Regions from separate parts of the Homo sapiens genome. Here region 2 is linked to region 1. Evidence: promoter capture Hi-C in 16 types of primary human blood cells and fetal thymus (Javierre and others, 2016). All regions are on one chromosome and are shown on one strand. The core of a region is centred on a gene start or on the middle of the fragment in contact, and the rest is flanking DNA. Distances in the headings are between cores, read along the strand shown.

Region 1 (4,061 bases), core at 784-3,283:
CCGGGGCCCAGGCACCCACCCAACTGAGCTGCGGCAGAGGGCAGCGGGCTCTCTGCAAACTGTAACAAGTTGGCTCTGTGGCCCTGTCTGTCAGAGGAGGAGGCTGTTCCCAGGAGACGTGGGCTCCACGGGAGACGCGCCGGCTGCGCTCAGCGGGGAGAGGTTGTCGCTCCAGTCCCTAGTGGAGGTCTGTTTGTGCAGGAAGCCGTCATCAGCAGAGAGGCTTTTATAGAAAGCCTCACCATTCCCCCTGCACCTAATTTGAGATGAAGGAACTCATTTGCTACGGAAGGCTCTAGAAAGTGGCTGCTGGCATGGTGGCAGGTGTGTGGGGATGGGAGAGGTGGCAAGAGGTCCAGGGACCCAGGCAGGATGGCCACTTATGGGTGTCCAGGCACCCACAGCTGACCCATGGGGCCCAAGCAAGAAGGACGCCAAGGCCACAGCGGGTGGAAGGGACCTGGTGGGAGACCCAGCTGAGGACAGCAGAGGCTGAGGACAGCAGAGGCTCAGCCCCACTTCCCCTGTGGTCCCTCACAAAGCCCCTCCCTCTTTCCAGACTCCTCCCCTCAGAACCTTCTCCGTCCGCCCACCGGCCAAGGCTCAGAGGGCTCTGGGGAAGGCGTGCGGGGTGGCAGGGCCCACCCAGGGTCCGGGTGCACCTGCAGGGCAGGCCCCGAGCTGCTCACCTCCCTGCTTTCCTCAGCCTCGAAGCAGCCAGGGCTCCTGGGCAGGGCGCCACAGCAGCCTCTATTTACCCCTCTGTAAAATGGGAAGAAAGTTCTCCCCAGGTGAGGCTGTCTCATGACTAAATCAGACACTCCAAGCTGATGCTCTGAAGCCACAGGTGTCCCTGCATCCCCATCACTAATACTGTCCTCTTTCCTACCATGGACAGGGGGCTCAGCGCCCAGGAAAAGAGCTCCACACTTTTCTAGCATCCCCTCGGGAGCTCTGGTTCCATAGAAGGGGGCTCCCAGTGTCCGATGGGGCTGAGCACAGCATGCAGCTGGGGCCCCCGTGTCCTAGGGATCCGAGAGCACACTGTTGGGCAGCAGCTCCTGGACGGGGCCCACCAGCCTTTGTGCAAACCAAGAAGGAGCTCGTCCCCTGGTACCAGGGCACCCAGCTGGCAAGCACAGGTGGCTGGACCCTGGCTCCCTCATTGGCACCTGCGGGGCCACATCGTGACCTTTGTGGGCCCCAGACACCATTCCCCCTGCACCTGATGGATCCATCGCTTTGCCCAGCCTTGGCTCTCGAGGTGACCTTCAAGGACTGCTGCAAGGACTGCCCCGCCAAGGAGCCTGGCACAGGCTGTTGGACACAACCCCAATTACTGACAGGTTCGCAAAGACACCCAAGCTGCAGGGCCTTGGCAGACGGGTAAGCAGCCTGATCTCGTCCAGAAATCTTGTCCACGTGCACCTCCCGGGAGCCCTCCTTCGGAGATGGCCGAGGCCTGATGCCCCAGAAGTCACTGTGTCCAGCTCCCACCTCTCCTGCCCCTCAACCCCTCAGTTCCTCCCTGGGAACCACCTGTCAGCTGCCCCAGCCTGGATTTGTGTTTTCACCCGGGAGTGACTCGGGGCCTCTGGTGGCCTGGGGAGATGGGGGAGCTTCCTGGGTCCAGGCACCAGCAGTCACCTCTGTCCCCAAGGAAGGCCCTGCCAAAGGGCCGGGCACCAGGTGCTCCACGTTTAGGCCAGGACTAGTTGATGGCTGCCCAGGCTCCCAATGACACATTCCCCTCCTCCGGGGTTGTCCCTGCTGGGCCTCTGTGCCAGCTGACAGCCAGAAGTCTGGTGATCGAGCCCGGTGGGGTCTCTGCCTGGGGAGGGATCCCTGGGTTTTGTCCCCATGCAGTGGGGGCTCAGGAAGTGCCCCCCAGCTTCCTCCTGCCTCTCAGCATTCCCAGCTGCCAGCACAGAGAGGCTGGGCTCAAGTCTTCTCCAAGGCCAGTGCCACCCTCCACCAGGTCCCACTGAGCCTCATGGGGCTGGTGGAGCCACCTGCCCACCTCAGCACTGCATCTCCAGCCAGGGCTGAGTGGCAGTGTGGGCACCGCGGCCCGGGACGACAGCCTGGGCTCAGAGTCAGGCTTGTGGCTTCGCCTCTCAGCTTGCGTCTCCTCCCCTGTGGGATGGGGGATTCCGTGGCACCCCCATGATGAACAGGATGCCATGGGCCTCAGCCCAGGGCAGACCTCAGTGTCCTTCCTGTGGCCGCTGCTGGAGGTGCGTGACCACAACACAGGTGTGTATCGATGTCACTTTGCGTCATGCCTGTGGGGAGGGCCCTCTCGCCCCATGGTCTCCATGGGGCCTCATCACACCTGGGAGGTAACTGGGGCATCTCAATTTTACAGATGAGTAAATGGAGGCTCAGAGCAGTTACAGGCTGAGGCTGAGACCTGGGCAGGTCTTTGTCATCTTGGAGTCCAGCACATACACAGGGCTAGCCTCCAATGGGCTAAAGGGAGCTGCCTCCTATACCTCCCTGTCCCCAGACACACACACAGAACCCCCACATATGCACAAGAGCACACGGCCACAGGAGTGTGTGCAGGTGTGTGCATGCATGCATGCGCATGCACACACATCCTTGCACAGAATGCACAAGGCACACACAGGCACAGGCGTGTGCACACACGTGTACACACACACATGCCTGCATGCATACCTCCCGGCTCCACAGAGGGGAGGGGGCATTTCCCAGGCAGGCTATGCTTCTCCAGCAGTGAGCGAACAAAATCTGTGCTCTGGGTGCCCAGAGCCCGGCAATGAGGGGATCTCACACCCTCCAGGGAGGGGACTCGTCCCCGCCACTGTGCTGACGCCTGGGTCTCCAGAGACCCTCCTGGAACTCCGCCAGGCCTTCCTGGGTTCCAGACAGGCCCGCCACGGGCATGACGCAGCGCCATCTAGCGGACAGCAGGGCTGCAGCGTGGACAGAACGGCCGGACGCCCAGTCCTGGGCTGGCGGCTGAGGAACAGCCTCACAGGGCAAGAGGGCAGGCAACACCTGCATCTTTCCGGCATAAGAACCTCAAGAAAAGCAAAGGAATATAAGCCTGTGTTCTTTGGAGCCACCGAAATCTCTGTTCTCATGGCAGTCGCTGAAAGTTTAAGGGAGCCGCCACCGCCCCAATGGGGTTGGTTTCTTTCTTCCCTGTTTTTAAAGATCTTTTAAAATGTCTAGAGAGACCCTGGGATCCAGTGCTGGACGGATGATGCAGGTTTGTGTGCATTTGGGTTCTTGCCCCACCCTCAGCCTCAGCCACAGCCACAGCATGGCTCCCTGGTGGTCTCGGGAGCAGGTGAACAGGGAGGTCCTGCTGTCGGTGCAGACCCCGCTCTCACGTCAGCCACTTTGCTGGGTAGGAATGAACTGAGACACTGCAGGGCACCCGCTAAGCCCACATCAAGCTCTAATTCCACAGTTATTTTGCAAAGAGGATAATGTTCCCCTGAGGACTCGCTGGATCATCTGCTCTCGGCCAGGGTGGCTGCAGGGCTGTGGGCAGCTGGTGCCTCTAGACAAGACATCTTCACCCCAAAACCCCAGGCCTGAAGTCCCAGGACCCCTTTCTCACCACAGTGACCACCAGGTGGCAGGTCAGGTGCAGAGGGGCCCTCTGCACCCCCAACTCTCAGGGGGATGGGACACCCACCACCCCTCAGGGCCTTCATCCCTCCTGTAAGTAGAGGCTTGCCTTTTGGATACCATGGCAGGGATCTCACATTCATGCCACACAGCAATTCGTGGGGACCTCAGAGATACGCGGGGAGGGCAAACAAGGCCCGCATCTGGAGTACAGCAGCGGGCTTGGCTGGAAGGATGTAAAGGGCACAGGCCGTCTGTCTCTACCCACAGCCCCTAGAGCCTGCAGCGTCGTGCTGCTGGTGAGAAAGACGGCGGCACCATCACATGCGAGAGACAGCTGTCTGTCGAGAGCCTGCTTGGGCTCCCAGGCTCCCTCATCGCCTGACACCCCCACGTGGGGAGGGGGCGATGACCTTTCACGTAGAGGAAGTTGAAAGCTGCTTTTTTCTTTTTGA
Region 2 (4,048 bases), core at 960-3,459, 250 kb before region 1:
ACATAGTCACACACTCATAGTCACACACACCCACACATAGTCACACACACTCACACAGTCACACACACACTCACACATAGTCACACAGTCACACACACTCACATAGTCACACACACTCACAGTCACACACACACTCACACATAGTCACACACACTCACACACAGTCACACACACACTCACACATAGTCACACACACACACACATAGTCACACACGTTCACACACACACAATAGTAAAGCCGTGACTCTTCCTGCAGGTTGGCCTTGGACTTTCTGGAATGGGCGTCAGCTCAGGAGTATGGCAGGAGGCCTGTGAGGGGCGGGGGGCCTCTGTGACTCAGGGCTGGCTCCGTGCTGGGGGGACAGATGGTGCTGTCACTGCCCACCTCGTTGGGGAAGGTGGGAGCAGCCTGGTGAGAGGACAGCATTGACCCGACTCGGGTCCACATTCCTGGTGCTGAACCACAAACCCTCAGGAAGCTCGAGACAAAGCAAGTCCCCTTCCTTGGAGAAGGAGAGGGTGGGCTAGAGGTTTCGAGTGCCCACCCAGCTCTGACGGGCCTTGAAAGGTCCGAGTCACTGCCTGTTCTGTGTCCCAGTCCCTGTCTGGAATGGCCACAGGACCCTTGTTTCTTGGGCAAGAAGGATGCATCATGGTACGCAGGGCAACTGGCCTAGTTCGTAAAGCACGCTCACCTTGAAGGAATAGAATTTGTTTTTTCTTTAGCCACCTGAGTAAATCATTTTAAAAGAATTAAAGTAAGATACATTTAACATTCCACCAACATTTATTAACACCAAACTAGACCAAAGCCTAACTGAGCCTTTAATTATTCAGAAGCTTAGATGGGGGAGGCGGCACTTGGAGGGGCCTCTGGGCTGTGGGGGCCGGCGAGAGTCAGGAGGGGAAAACAGAGCCCTGAGCCCAGGGAGGAGGCATTTGCGGGGAGAGCAGAGAGTTGGGAAATGGATTCCAGAATGCTCCATGAGCCCCTGGGACTGCAGGCCCTGGAATGTTCCTTCCTGCCTGTGCGTGCCACAGCATTACTGCTTAAAAATTTAAAGCCCCATTTGATACCATAGCGGGCACTCTATTTTCAGAGGGCATGAGCCATTTGCTATGAAAGAGGGCCCTTGCTCCTTAATGCACTGTGCATTTTAGCAGGAGGCAGCGCTGCTCCGTCCTCAGCTTCCCCCGCACACCCTGGCCTGTGTGCTATTTTCTTTCTTTCCTCTTTCTCTTTTCTTCTCTTGCTTTCTCTTCATGGGCAGAAGCAGGACAGGGTGCTCCAGAAACCTCAGCCCATGTGCCCTGTTGATAGGGCTGGGTCACAGCTGAGCATATTCCAGCCAGGTCGGTATTTCTGTGCCCTGGCTTCACCTTTAACCCACCTGGTGAGGCTGCAAGGTACTGAGTCCCAGGCCCCACCTCCAGAGTCTCTGATTTCTGTTGCCCTGGGGTCCCTGTGGGGAACCCAGGTATGTACAGCCCTGGAAGCCTCACCAGGTAGTTCCATGCAGCTAGGGTCGAGCACTGTAGGGACACAGATAGTGGCAGGCGTGTGGCACGGGCTCCGTTCTCTTTGAAGAAGCACTTGGCTCTGGGTTTGAGAGTGTAGGCTTTGGAGCCAGTCCAGCTTGAACTGGCAGGCCTCCTGGCTGGGTGACAGTAAGCAAGTTGCTTAACTTCTCTGAGCCTTGGTCTCCCTATGTGTAAAATGGGACTCAAAATAGTACTTATTCATTTCCCGGGGTTTTGTAAAGATCAAATGAGATAAATAACACAGCAGACTCAGTGCAGTGCCTGGAACATGGGAAAGGATGGATAATTATTAGCTGTTAGTTATCTTGAGGCCAGGTGTGTCTTTGTGTGTTGCTGGCCCCCCTCCCGCTTCTTAATGCCTGCTGCCCCGTTGGGTAGGGTGTGGGATAGACTGTCATCCCGTAGCTCTGTGACCCTGAGCCTGCCAGTTGGCTCCTCAGAGACACATCCTGCAGGCAAGAAAATGAAGGTGCTCAGAGGAAGGGCTGTGCTCAGAGGAATGCCTTCCCTAGGGTTGGGAGATGGGTGCGTGATTGCAGTCCTAGACTGACTGTGAGCTGGAGGCAGACCTGTGCCTGTGCCTTGTCCATGGCCAGAAAGGAAAGTGCATTCAGGGTTAGGAGAACTATAGGAGAGTAATTGTTTGGTTTTAAGGCAGCTGAATAGCTTGGTATCTTTAAAATTTGTTTTTTAAATCTAAAGTCTAATCTTTGAAATCTTTTAAAAGCATTCCTTCTCTGGGGAGCAAAAAGCCTACAGCACCGTGTGTGGTCTCCTGACTGAGGCCAGCATGAGCTCAGCAGCTTCTCCTCGGCACTTGTGGGCCTTCGCTCCTGGGGATTTTGCCAGGAGGGGAATGGAGAGAGGGGTCTGGACTGGCGCCGCCATTTGTATTGTTGCTTCCTCCGGCCATGTGGCTGCAGGAGCTACTCCCGTGCACTAGATTTACTGGACTTTGTGCAGGGGTTACAGATGTGGATGAGACCCAGTGTCACTCCCCCCATGAGCATCCTGTCCGGAAAGCTGTGGGGGGACAGCTGTGTGGCTCACTCCTAGGCAGACATTGTGCCAACAAAGTGACGTTGTTGTTTCCAAATAGTTTGCAGCTAGTTTTAACTCAGTCCATCAGAGAAGCCTCCCTGGAGGAGGTGGCATTTGGGCTGGGCCTTGAAGGACGAATATAGACAAACTTTACATCTTTTCTTGAAAAAGGTGCTGTAGTTATTCAAAGTGACAGAGGAAGACAACAAGAGAATCAGGCAGGTGGTATTAGAGGTATGCTTCCGTTTCTCGGGGAAGAGAAGGGGTGAGAGGGAGCTGAAGCCACCCCGTCGTGTACTTTACAAACTTAAAATTTCAAGATGAGTTTGTGTGTGTTACTTTCTGATAACAAGATATGAAATTCCTTGCATTTTGGGGTGCTGAGATTGGCAATAGTGGTTTTCCTTCTACTGAGGAGGCTTGGTTTGCTCTCTTGTATTTTACTTTATTTGGCGGGGTGGAGGATGTATAGTAAGAAGTAGAAACCACACTGTCCTCTTTTCACACTGACCGGCAAAGCTAAGCCTCATCCCCAAATGATTTTGTTCCTAGAAGGGAGAGTATTTTCAAATTCAGCAGAAAAGTCAGGAGTGAAGATTTGCTGTCATGGAGGTAACTTCCTCTCTAGTAATTGGATTAGATTCTGAGAAAATGACCCAAACACCACTGCAGCAATCCTCAGCTTCCTCCCGCCTCCCCGCAGCCCCGAATGCATTTGCACAGAAGCACACACCAGTTTCCTGCAAATAAAATGCACTGGCAGGTGGCTGCACTAAAACTGTTTTTCTTTTAAGCTCCCTGGAATCCTGTTGAATATTAAAGTTCCATCTTGAGGCTAGACTCAATTCAGATCTGCCTGTAAAGATGTAAAACAGCGATTCTTCATTTGCTGGGTGATTGATTCCTGACTCTATGCTCAGAATGTACATGTTTGCAGAGCAGTCATCTACCTATGATACTGTGGGGTGTGATGGATGGCATAGCAGATAGGGAAAAAAGCTTGATGCAGAGTCAGGGAGAGCAGCTCCCTTGTTCCTTCACTCTGCACTTAAGTAATCAACCTTATCAGCAAGACAGTCAATGAGATTTAGGAAGAAGGAGAATTTATACCTGGGGGCGGGGCAGCCTAAGAGTGCCATTCCTCTCTGCTGGTGTTTATGCTTGCCTAACTAATGTTGTCCTGCAACAGAAAGACTAGGAACAATCCCCACCCACCACTACCAAAAAAAAAAAAAAAAGAGAGAGAGAGAGATCAAGAGAAATCACCCAGCCTGTGCCTGGAGCTACAGCGAATAACGGAACTTGAGTCTCCTACACCCCTGATTTGCATCCCTGATGATAAGAACAGGTTGGCAAAGAAAATGTTTACCCAACCAATTTGCTGTGTTTGGGGAGTTATCAGTCCTCACAGTCCGCGATGCTGGCGATTACCTTGTAAATAATGCATGGGCCACTTCTGGTTCCC

The links. Contacts are between HindIII fragments. The CHiCAGO score rates a contact against its expected background, and 5 or more counts as called.
Region 2: a contact is called between a fragment that was not itself captured here and the fragment with the promoter of LINC02907 in region 1, in 1 of 17 cell types (endothelial precursors). The highest score is 9.1, in endothelial precursors.

Annotation. Positions count from the first base shown.
Region 1 is chr9:135,341,216-135,345,276 of GRCh38, forward strand. It overlaps LINC02907 (long intergenic non-protein coding RNA 2907), which reads left to right and starts at 2,034. Exons shown (of 3, transcript NR_171012.1): 1 at 2,034-2,256; 2 at 2,807-3,238. RefSeq lists an enhancer at 1,075-1,787. The HindIII fragment of the contact is 15,144 bases long and covers 1-4,061 here.
Region 2 is chr9:135,091,711-135,095,758 of GRCh38, forward strand. The region is part of intron 2 of OLFM1 (olfactomedin 1); the gene reads left to right. Among named protein-coding and RNA genes, the nearest start is that of OLFM1, 6.1 kb to the left of the region's middle. RefSeq lists a silencer at 243-400. The HindIII fragment of the contact is 2,742 bases long and covers 839-3,580 here.